Regions from separate parts of the Homo sapiens genome. Here region 1 is linked to region 2. The links are contacts of gene promoters, found by promoter capture Hi-C in blood cells and fetal thymus (Javierre and others, 2016). All regions are on one chromosome and are shown on one strand. Each heading gives the region's core, a stretch centred on a gene start or on the middle of the fragment in contact. The rest is flanking DNA. Distances are from core to core; before and after follow the strand shown. Region 1 has its middle 57 kb from the start of UST-AS2. Region 2 holds the start of UST-AS2 (UST antisense RNA 2).

Region 1 (5,818 bases), core at 1,618-4,117, 57 kb before region 2:
AGCATTGGTTTATTCACATAGCAGTTGGTGACAGCACTGTTTTACCCAACGGCTCTTAACAGCTGGCATCTAAACTCCTCCTGAGGAAGGATCTTCCTTTGTCTGAAAAAATTCCTTTAAAAACCTGCTTGGATGGGCAACACCTTTGGATGCCAGCCAGCAGCAAGATATCAGGAAAGGAAACATGCTCTTCAGTATACATTGGGGAACTGGAGGGTTTCACACCTGAAGAAGAGGGCAGATGAATGAAGAGGGTGAGAAGAAAGGAAAGAGAAAAAGGGCCAGGCAGGTGAGGGGCCAACCATCCAAGTGAAGGCTTGTTTTATGTGCTGTAAAGCCTGTCTTTGTTTATTATCTTTTTTTTGAGACAGTCTTCCTCTGTTGCCCAGGCTAGAGTGCAGTGGCATGATCTCGGCTCACTGCAACCTCCGCCTCGCAGGTTCAAGCAATTCTCCCTGCCTCAGCCTCCCGAGTAGCTGGGATTACAGGCACCCGCTACCACACCTGGCTAACTTTTGTATATTTAGTAGAGATGGGGTTTTGCCATGTTGGCCAGGCTGATCTTGAACTCCTGACCTCAAATGATCTGCCTGCCTTGGCCTCCCAATGTGCTGAGATTACAGGCGTGAGCGAACATGCATTGCCTGTCTTTGTTTATTCTCTATTCCCTACTTGCCCTCCCCCAAACCTTGAATCCAAAGAAGCAGGAACCAAAGGGCGTAGAGGCCACAAAAAGATAAAGCTCTCTAGAAAACACAAGAACCCTAAGATGCATCTTGAGGTTCCTCAGGCTACGGAACTGGAATTCGTGGTGGGGCAGAAGCCCATGTGGCCTGGCTCTCCAAGGGGCCAGAGCCCCTTGATGGCTTCTGAGTAAGCCATGGCTGAAAGCTAAGTTCTCAGTGAGGTCTTGAAGGCCTGAACAATATTTATTTTATTTTATTTTACTATTTTTTTTGAGATGGGGTCTCTCTATGTTGCTCAGGGTGGTCCTGAACTCCTGGGCTCAAGCTCTCCTCCCACCTCAGCCTCCCAAGTAGCTGGGACCACTGATGTGAGCCGTTGCACCTGAAATTTTATTTAAAGTGTTTTTATTTTAAACTTTAAGCCTTAAAAGAAAGAATGAAGCTGAAAATTCCATAAACATGACCATAATCAAAATTACAGCTTATTGTATTAGTGCTATGAACTTTCTCAAATGTATAGTTTTCTTTGGTCTTTCTTTACCATAGTCTTGTCAAAAGAAAACACTAGTATTAGTCATATATTCCTATTGGGAAACTGAGGCATAAAAGATGAACAATAAAGCCATGGTTTCGAGCCCGGGTCTCCTGACAGACAGTCCAGGGGGTTTTCCTAAGGAGATGCTGGGAAAAGCCTTTGTTCTCAGAGCTCTATTTTCCTCTCAGATGAGGTAGCTGCAGAGTTCAATTTGAATTCTGAGCAAATTAATATTTGGAATAGTATCTCAGCATATCCCAAGGAGGAGGTTAAATCATTTTGTCCCTAACTTAATGTCCGACTCTCAAACCCAGAGCCTTAGCTTTTTCCTTAAAAACCTGCCTGTCATTTGCCTGCAGGAGGGAAACAGGGAGGGCTGTGATCAAACCTAACTCTCTTTACATTTGCAGCCGCATGTTACACTCTGATATCAATCTTGCAGCTGGAAAGGTCTATATAAGAAATAGCCACGGCCAAATTCTCTGTTTTTTGGCAAACCTTACTCCATCTGTCTTGATAGCCGACAGGCAAATCAGTTTTATTCTAAATCAAAATGATGGGTGTCCTAGCAGTTCCTGGCCAGGCCAAGGAGAACTGAGGATGGGAGGATGCAGAGGGCCCCTCTCCCCCTTAACTCTCCTCTTCAGGTATCTTCTTTAGCCAGGTGAGATCAGGTTTAAATTAGACTCTCTAACAGGGAGGAAGAGGACAAGACTCCACAAAACCCAGGCCTGAGCAGAGTTTGTGATTCAAAAGAGGTGAGCCTTCACACTGGGGAGCAGGGTACTGAGAGTGAGGCCTTCTCTCTCCCCATGTCTCCAAACACCACACATCTAGTCTTGACGGCCAAAAATCCTCACCAGAAGAAAGTGCTAGCATTTATTATGCCTTAATGTATCTGTCTCAGTTCCTTCTCACAATTACCTGTGAAGTACATATGCCTCTTTCACAGAAGACAGATCCTAGGTCTCAGGAACCTGAAGTTACCTGCCCTCGTTAATAGGTGGCAGGATTGATATTTGAACTGTGTTACTACAAAGCCCGTATTCTTCTCCACTCTTCCATCCCCTGGTTCCCCAAAGCCTGCCTGTGAGAAAAGAACAATGAATGACTGTTTTCTTAAATACAAAATCACATCTTTTTAAATTTGGAGATTATGGTCTTAGTTTTTTAATGTGAAAATGTCTATTCTTTGCCCCAAATCATGGTGACGGTAGATAGTAATTCCCTTCTCTCCTCTTCCTTTTTTTGCTTCATATTTTTACTTGACCAATGGGGAAAGGAAGCTGACAGTCCTATTTTGGTTCCATGTTTCTATTAATTTTTTTTTCTTGGTTCATAAATCAAAAGTCTGGGACCCCTGCTTTACACAGAGTAACTCATCACAGCGAAAGAATAGCATAGCGACTGGAACGCAGGGCCGCAGCCGTGTCCTAGGTAACATGCTGATCATTCGATTTAGGATTTACTAACTGACACTGTACAATTGGTTCGAGTTTGGTGATAAGCTTTAAGTACGACTACTAGGGACTTCTTAGTCAAAGGTCATCTCTTCTCTAATCTGAAGCTTCTTCTTCCTTTAAGATTCCCACTTTCCTTCCTGGTTGTGCCCGTATATCTGGGTTCTAGTTTCTTAACTCAATAGAATGTGTTAATCAGCTAATATTCTTCTGAACTCATTTTTATTCTGTTCTATACACAGTTATTTTTCTAGGTGGAAGCTTGAACATATTTTTTCTATATTAAATAGTCTCATGATTTTTACAAATGGTATGAAATTGCTACAGGCCATATTAAATATTACAATGCCCTTAAACTTGAACAAAGCCAGTCTGGGACAGACAGTAAGTCCACAGCCTGACAGGCAGCACCCCCTTGCTGACTGTACATTCCGTTGCGTTAATCAGCCGTGGGACAGAGCCACTGCTGATGCCGCTCCTCTTTTGAACACCGTCACCTGTGGGCTCAGGGCAGCTGCAGACCCTCCAGTCCCGGGAGCCACATCTTCAGACACAGCTCTGTGTCTGCGCCATACCAGTTTCAGGGCCTCCGGAGTGTCTCTCAGCTCTAAGTCCTGCAATTTCCTTTATGGATGCAGTAAATCATTCCACACACCATGGAGCAGAGGAACAGTCTGAATTATTAGACCTACCTGCTTGGCTCCTTTAGAGGGGGATTCTTATATTGAATGATTTTCCCTCTTCACTTATTATTATTTTTTAGATTTTTTAAATGTTTTTTTGAGACGGAGTCGCCCTCTGTCGCCCAGGCTGGAGTGCAATGGCGCGATCTCGGCTCACTGCAACCTCCGCCTACTGGGTTAAGTGATTCTCCTGCCTCAGCCTCCCAGAGTAGCTGGGACTACAGGGGCACACCACCACACTCAGCTAATTATTTTTGTATTTTTTAGTAGAGATGAGGTTTCACCACGTTGGCCAGGCTGGTCTCGAACTCTTGACCTCAGGTGATCCTCTCGCCTTGGTCTCCCAAAGTGCTGGGATTACAGGCGTGAGCCATGTGAAATGTTTACATAAAACACCCATAGAGCGTTCCTTAGAAGCTGACCAGGGGGATTCTGGTCATGTTGGGCCACTAGTGTTGGTTTCCCAGAGGTGGCAAGTCTCTGTCACTTTCTTTCTCTATCTCTCCTGTTTACTCTGCCCTCCTGTTTCTCACTCCAAGTTCTCCGCCTTCCTTTGCTCAGTGAAAAAGAATTAGTTCACTGCATTCATTCAGCCACTCACCCATTGGCTCATTTGTTCACTCCTTCATTCTGAGTGCTGCATTTAAGTGCCGTGGACACTGCAGTGAACAAGACAAGGTGTTGCCCTCACAGAGGGTGTGGTCTGGGGGGTGAGACAATGGTTAAATGAGCATTTACAATGTAGCGTGGTGAGCGCTACCCTTGGGGGGAGCACCAAGGGGCTTCTGGAGGCACTGAAGCAACAGAGATGACGCAAAGCGGCTCAAGACCTGAGAAAGCGCTGTTCAAGTGGCAGCTGCAGCTTGTTCACCCTCAGCCTGGGCTCCCTGGGGCAACACAGACCCAAGGTGAGCTGAAATTGTACCCGCAGTTCTTCTTGAGCAAGAAAGGGTTTTCCTGGTGGAATTCCACAACTGAGTTGGAAAAATAAAGATTAAGATACAAGCGTGTGCCGAGGGACAGAGAACGTGACTTCTGTGAAGTGGAGAGAAGAGAGCTATGCTGCACAAAGTGGAAAGGAAACTTTGTCACCGTTAAATAAATGTAACCAGAACAGACTCAAGGAGGGCTCTGAAGGGTGGAGTCCACTGAAGTTGTGTACAATTCATTATGGAAGCGAGACTCGAATAATAGCTGACTTAGTTTAATTTATATAGGTGAATCAATAATTTGCCTGAGAGATCCAATTTTGGGTTTAAATGATCTGAATAGTCTTGCCCTAAAATCAAGCTCTGTCCAGGAGCCCTAGTGATTGAGGCAGTGGAACAGCTCTGGGCTAAACTGGTTGGGTCAGCTCTATCCACGCCTTTGTAAGCTGTTTTAACCATTTCACAAGAGTGAGGCATGATGTGAGGTTAAGGGAGCTTTCCTGTGATGGGAGGCTGGGGAACGGGACGGCTCACCCACAAGCTAAGGGTCTGGCTTGAGCATTTGTGGTTCAAGTGCATGTATTTGCAAGGTACGGTTTGCCTTGTGTCAATGAACCTTTAAATGTCACCTGAGATCAGTTAAAAGTAAAATATTAAATATGTAGCAGCTGTGAATGTATTGTAATTTATGTGAAAGTGCTTTGAAAACTTAAATGCTGTAGTGTTTAACCTTTTTCTTTGGTAACAGACCATTTTGAGAATCTGATGAAAATATGGACCCCCTTCCCAAAAGAAGTACATACCAATATGCTTATACCTTTATGATTCTCTACACAAATTCAAGAAGTTCACAGATATTCTGATGTCACAGCTTCCCTGATATAGAGATTTATAAGTATAAAATGTTATTGAGTATTCTTTTTACATATTAAGTGAATGGTGGTATGTAGAGTTTTATATTTAACATGATCTCAATGATATTATATGTATAGAAAAGGATATACGCACATGGAACAGACTGGAAGGATATGCACTAAAATGTAAATAGTGCTTATATTTGGGTGATGAGATTGTGGGTGATCTTAATTTTCTTCTCTAAGTCTTGTTTGAAAATTTTTTCACTATTTTATTGTTAACAAGTGTCGCTGTGCCTTGTGACAGGCTATAGAAATACTGGGCAGAGCTTTCAAAAGCAAATCTAGGCTGGGCGTGGTGGCTCATGCCTGTAATCCCAGCATTTTGGGAGGCCGAGGCGGGCAGATCATGAGGTCAGGAGTTCGAGACCAGCCTGGCCAACATGGTGAAACTCCATCTCTATTTAAAATACAAAAATTAGCTGGGCATGGTGGTGTGTGCCTGTAATCCCAGCTACTCAGGAGTCTGAGGCAGGAGAATCACTTGAACCTGGGAGGCAGAGGTTGCAGTGAGCCAAGATGGCGCCACTGCACTCCAGCCTGGGCGACAGACAGCAAATCTAAAAAGACCCTGTAGTGGAACCTCTTTTGGGTGGCGGCTTTGTTCACAG
Region 2 (6,366 bases), core at 1,841-4,340:
TCTGTCACCCAGGCTGAAGCGCAGTGGCACAATCTTGGCTCACAGCAACCCTGCAACCTCTGCCTCTGGGGCTCAAGCGATCCTCCCACCTCAGCCTCTCAAATAGCTGGGACTATGACTGTACACCCCCACACCCAGCTAATTTTTGTATTTTTTTTTTGTAGAGACAGGTTTCACCATGTTGTCCAGGCTGGTCTTGAACTCCTGAGCTCAAGAGATCCACCCACCTTGGCTTCCCAAAGTGCTGGGATTCCAGGTGTGAGCCACCATGTCCGGCTGCAATTAGCTCTTTAGTGCCTCACTCTTAAAACGAAAGACAGACAAGTGTCACCAGAGGAAAGCCTTCAGACTGAAAAAGAGAGCCCAAACCAACCAAAACAGTACAAAGGAATCTGGAGCAAATAGAGATAAAGCGGGGAATAAATGAAAACGCTTAAACCAATGTCTATAATTTTTAGACTTTTAAGGTAATATTGCATCCATTCACTAACAAGAACAAGATGTTATATAAAAAGAAGAAAGAAAGGCTGAAAAAGAGAAGATTCAACAGAGTGGCTGGAATACAAATTGAGGAACTCTTCCAGAGAAAAAATGTTCAAAAGATGGCAATTGAGGGAGGAAAAAACAGCGAAGCGCATAGAAAGGATGAATCTAGAGGTTCAAGTATCTGACCACTAAAAGCATTCCAGAAAAGAAGCAGAACATGGTGGTAAAATCATCAAAGAAACAAAATGTTAAGAATTCCCAGAAATAGAAGACAGGAGTTTTAAGCCTGAAAGTATCCACTAAATATTTAGCACACATACCGAGTCATATTGTAAAATTTCATAAAAGGAATAAAGAGACAATCCAAGGAGAGAGAGAGAGAGAGAGAGAGAGAGAGAGAGAGAGAGAGAGAGAGAGAGAGAGAGAGAGAATGAGCATGAATATGAGAACCAAACTAGCCATCAAGTTAGAGTAGAATACTGAGCTTTTCAGACCTTCAATGACTCAAAAAAAATTTCCCTCCCATGCACCTTTCATGAGGAGGCAACTTAGGAACATCTTGAAGTAAAATGAGTTATTAAATCAAGAAATAGCATCCCCGAGATTAAGAAAACTGGACCCAACTGAGAAACATAGTAAAGGGAAGCTGCAGTAAAGCTGTGTTTAGAGTAATGAACCCAGATATACTAGGAGCAGGAGCTTTCTTGGTGGAAAGAGGAGAGGGCCTCTGGGGGAAGGGAGGGCAGGCTGGGATAGAGCTTAAAGAGCTCTGGGTGGAAAGAGGAGAGGGCCTCTGGGGGAAGGGAGGGCAGGCTGCGATGGAGCTTAAAGAGCTCTGGGTGGAAAGAGGAGAGGGCCTCTGCGGGAAGGGAGGGCAGGTTGGGATGGAACTGACATACTTATCTGGTAATTAATATTTAAATAATACCAAAAGTAATACTGAATGCGGCAGATCTAATGGCACATACGAAAATTTTGGCACATACGAAATTTTTGATAGGTACAAATAAATCTAGGCAAATAAATGAAGGCAATAAATAATTCCAGGAAAAACAATTAAGTTGTGCAAGAAATGAAACAAAATCATGATGTACTACTCTGATCAGCAGCCAACAAAATGTATATAGTCACAGCAACGTCAGCAGGACCATGCATCTCAAATGTGGGTATGACCATCTTAGGAAGATGGAGAGGAGCAAGGAAGTAGAAGTAAAGGTAATGGAATAAGAGAATGAGATCATGACCCCAGTAAATCAAGAAACAGCAGCCTGTGCATACTAGTTACAGATAGCGCGGTGATTATCCGAAGAAACATCTAGCTGCGCTGAAAGTGATTGGCTCTGCAACATCAGACTTCATCTTTGGGAGGGTTGGAATAGGAAACTGCTGGTTTTCATTATACATCTTATAGGACTATTTGATTTTTAATTATATACATGCATTACTTAATAGATATAGCAAAAAATGCAGGGAGGTAAAATCCTAGGAACACATGTTTTGAAAAACAGTTCTGGTAGAGTCTGGTTGACAATGCAGCAGAAGCATCTAGAAGCGTATGCTATGGTAAAGACGAGGGGCGGGGTGAGACCTTCAAGTCAAGTGAAACTACCCCACCTGACAAACAACCCTCTCTTCTTCTCATCAGTGTGGGATTATGTTGGATTTTTCTATGCGTTTGTAGGTAATGAAATGAACGTGCTTACTAGAACCCACAAGAAACCACACATAAAAATCCCCAGCAATGTTATATACACAGGTATATTTCTAGCTTTTTGCTGTATTCTTTCACAATTCTGTGCCATTTGCAAGATGTGAAAAGCTAGGACATTATGTATTGATAAAAATGTCTGAGACATGAAAAATATACAGACCAAGAAATATTTTTATTTGAAAAAGATTTAGCCAGACAAAAATAGAAGCTTCCATTATAAAATGTTGAGTCATGCAAAATGGGTAAGGATTGTACTTCGCCCCGGCAGGGGGTACATTTTATAAGCAAAGAATGTCAGAGAGCTAAGGCCACGAGCCAAGGGCCCAAAGACAGTTTTGAAATCCTTTGTCTAGTGCTCTTTCCACATCACCACATTAATTCCTGGGGTGGACAGGGACCTTGACAATTTAAGCATAAAAGAACAAACTGACCACAAGGTCGTTTTTATAAAGATCAACCATCAACCCCTGGGGTCAAGTTTCCAATCTTTGCTCAAGCTTTAGAAGCCTTTCAGCTTTGTGGCGTTATCAGGAAAGTCCAAAAATTGAAATTTGTGGTGACTAATTCCACCCCCTACAAATACTCAATGCAGAGCATATTACTGTCAGCTCAGCTAAAAACTGCTCAAAGTAGAAGTGATTAAATTCTAAAGTAGAAAAAAATTCACCTCCAAACACAGAAACACACTGGTACCTCCCCCGCACACCCAGATATTATTAGCCAGCTTTTTGCCTGGGGAAATGAATCATGAGACAGAAAACTGTACAACCCCCAAGTCTGACCACACTGAGTAACTGGGGTAGACACAGAGGGGGGCATCTGGGGCTCTCCCGAGGCCAAGGTTGGGACCCAGAAGAGATGAATTTCCCTGGGTGCACAGGGTGGGAGGGAGGTGGGGCTGGAAGAACTTGATCTGGAGGGATGATCCCGAAGGCTCCCAGTGAAGAAGGCCAGGAAGAGCAGAGGATGGTGCCAGGAGGATGATGTCGGGGGACACAGGCAGCTCATGCCTGGATCAGGCAGTGACTGGTAACAGAAGGAGAGTCCATGCTGGTGGGCCCAGGGGAACATAGGTGGTCAAGCAGGGCAGTACTTGGTGTCTGGGGATGCAGTGTGCGACCTCCTGTATTCGGTGCGAGGCACATGGGGCCAGCAGGAGCTGGTGTGAGCCCGGGTCTGAAGGGTGGTGGGATCTTAGTGGGGAAGACTGGGAAGACAGCAGGGAGGAAGAACTCAGGCTGGAGGAGGATGGGGGCCTGGGAGGATCCCTGCCACACTGTTAGGAAGCCAGGGAGCTTGGGTGGTGGTAGGATGGGAAGAGGGCAGGGAAACGGGGGGAGGGTGACACAGGCCCTCCGGCAGCAGCGGCTTGGCCACTGGCGCTGAGATTGGTATGAGTGACTCAGTGCCAGGTTGCGCCACAGAAAGCTGAGGCTGCGGATCCTTCTCCTGCCTCTGGTAGGGCCGTCTTAAAGGCAGGGTGAGTGAGCCTGGCTCCAAGAGGCTGGGTCCGCAGGCAGGGGCTGACGTGGGCTGGCCCAAGCCCCAGCTCTCCTCACTCTGAGTGCTTCTATGCTTTCTCACCTCCACGCTTCCAATCATGTTATTTTCCTCTTATTAAAATGCCTCCTTCCACGTCCACTTGGCAAACTCCTACGCACCCTTTAAGGCCGGGCACAAATGTCTCCACAGGGTTATGCGCCCCAGCCCTGTTAGTGACGGCCTTCCAGCTAGACAAGATTTTCATCTTTATACTGCCCTTCCCCAGGAAAGGGACATCACAGACACTCAGCTATTTATTTGCTGGAGGTGTTTGTTGAATTTTTCTGGTAGTTTCAGATTACACCTATTTAAATATTAGTTTTCAGAGAAGAGAAATATTTTTGTAAAGTTATTCCTAGAACATCAATGTCTGTGAAGGAAGTTCTATTTTCCTGTTAATCTTTCATAATAAAATTGGAAATGCTTTCTCCTGGAGGAGAGATGATCCCAACGCAAGAACAAATCAGTAAGCAAGAGTAAAACATGTTTTCCAATAAAACAAAGAGTAATAGTTGAAATAGGCCAAACGCACATATATTATGCTGCAATTTAAGCTTTCATAAAGTAAATTAAACAAGCCTAGAGGCTGAATTCTTGTGAATTGGTGATGTTTCTGTAAACTGAATGATGTTATCAGCCTGTGGTTATACAGTTCCCCTCAGAAAAATGTTCACTAAAAAAAATCACAAGTGTTTAGAAGTTAAAGGGGTTTACATTATGTGTTCATTTTTAATGAACTATTTGCCCAGTAGCTACAGCTGAACCAGTTATATGCCTTCAGCTTAGACTTTTTTTTTTTTTTTTTTGAGATGAGTCTTGCTCTGTGGCCCAGGCTAGAGTGCAATGGCTCGATCTCAGCTCACTGCAACCTCCACCTTCCGGGTTCAGGCAATTCTCCTGCCTCAGCCTCCTGAGTAGCTGGGATTACAGGCATGTGTTGCCATGCCTGGCTAATTTTTGTATTTTTAGTAGAGATGGGGTTTCACCATGTTGGCCAGGCTGGTCTCGAACTCCTGACCTTGTGATCCACCTGCCTTGGCTTAACAAAATGTTGAGATTACAGGCATGAGCCAGCATGCCCAGCCCAGCTTAGATTTTTAGACACTATCTTAAAGACCTTGCACTGCTATTCCCTACGTCCCCGCAACCCCCACTGGAAAGACGTCAGGTGTTGTCAAACAGATCTATTCTCAAAATTATTTTTTTCTGTGTGTATTGCCTCGTACTGGCTTAAGATAACACACTGGCTTAAGATAACACATCTTGTGTGTGTGTTAAGGTAACACACACACAAGATCCAGTGCTGACATTATTAGGATCTGAGCCTGGGACATGGCTGCTGAAAAAAAAAATCTTTATAGAGAATATCGATGGTAAATGAACCAATAGCAAATTGAAGTCCTGTTTTCATCAATGATAATTGAGTTTTTAAAAACAATCATCTATGATGATTCCTAAACTCATGTTTCTTAGTGAACAGACAGATACGTTGGACAGAGATAAACTATATATTTAATTTTAATTTTTTTTTTTTGGTAGAAACAGGATCTTGCTGTTGCTCAGGCTGGTCTTGAATTCCTAGGCTCAAGTGATCCTCCTGCCTTGGCCTCCCAAGGTGCTGGGGTTACAGGTATAAGCCACAGTGCCCAGCCTAGATTTTATTTTTAAGCTCTTGCCTTTAATGGCAATACATACTATGAATGCTTAGTACTCACTAACTTCTGAATTAATGATTAAATATAAAGAAGAGTTTTAGAGGAATCACAGATTTATGTTTTGTGATGGGCCTGGGGACAGAAGCGTGAATGTCAGTGCTGTCCCTTAGGACTTGGCGAGACTGTGAGCAAGTTGTTCAGCCTCTTTGAGCCTTGGTTTCCTTGTTTAGAAAATGAGAAAAAAAAATTGTCTTCCTCAACTTCAGGGGATTTGTGTAAGAATCAAATGAGATCATCTATATGAAAGTGTTTTATAACTGCATATTGTTATACAAGTAATTATGACTTAGAAACTTACTGATTTTGTGATCTTAAGATGATTGCATCATGTATGAGTGCTATATAATAAGGAGTCTAGTTGTTTGAACATGGGTAGGTGCACACACCACACACACACACACACACACACACACACACACACACACACACAAGATCCAGTGCTGACATTATTAGGATCTGAGCCTGGGACATGGCTGGTGAAAAAAAAATCTTTATAGAGAATATCGATGGTAAATGAACCAATAGCAAATTGGAGTCCTGTTTTCATCAATGAAAACTGAGTTTTTAAAAACAACTTAATTGCCTTCTAAAAATAGCTAATCTGAATTCCTCCTAACCATCATTGTATACTTGGGAGTTTCCAGAATATTTTTGAGTTTTGCTGCAGCACAGAAGCAATAGAAGTGGAAAATAAAAATGGAAATTAAAAATGAAAGAGAGAATTTGTTTAATTCAGGCTTTCTAAAATGTTAGTTTTTAAAACTAAAGCCAGAGTTAGTGGTGTATCTATATAATATATACATTATATATTATATATACATTATATATATAATATATAATGTATATATAATATAATATAATATAATGTATACAATATAATGTATATATTTTATATATAATATATAACATACA

Evidence for each region. The method cuts DNA at HindIII sites, captures the fragments that hold promoters and counts their contacts. A CHiCAGO score of 5 or more calls a contact.
Region 1: a fragment that was not itself captured here is called in contact with the fragment with the promoter of UST-AS2 in region 2 in 1 of 17 cell types (megakaryocytes); the score reaches 5.9 in megakaryocytes.

The regions. Positions count from the first base shown.
Region 1 is chr6:149,087,000-149,092,817 of GRCh38, reverse strand. No RefSeq gene overlaps it. Among named protein-coding and RNA genes, the nearest start is that of UST-AS2, 57 kb to the right of the region's middle. The HindIII fragment of the contact is 154 bases long and covers 2,791-2,944 here.
Region 2 is chr6:149,029,385-149,035,750 of GRCh38, reverse strand. It overlaps UST-AS2 (UST antisense RNA 2), which reads left to right and starts at 3,090. Exons shown (of 2, transcript NR_134599.1): 1 at 3,090-3,226. The region is part of intron 7 of UST (uronyl 2-sulfotransferase); the gene reads right to left. RefSeq lists an enhancer at 2,497-2,686. The HindIII fragment of the contact is 1,599 bases long and covers 2,697-4,295 here.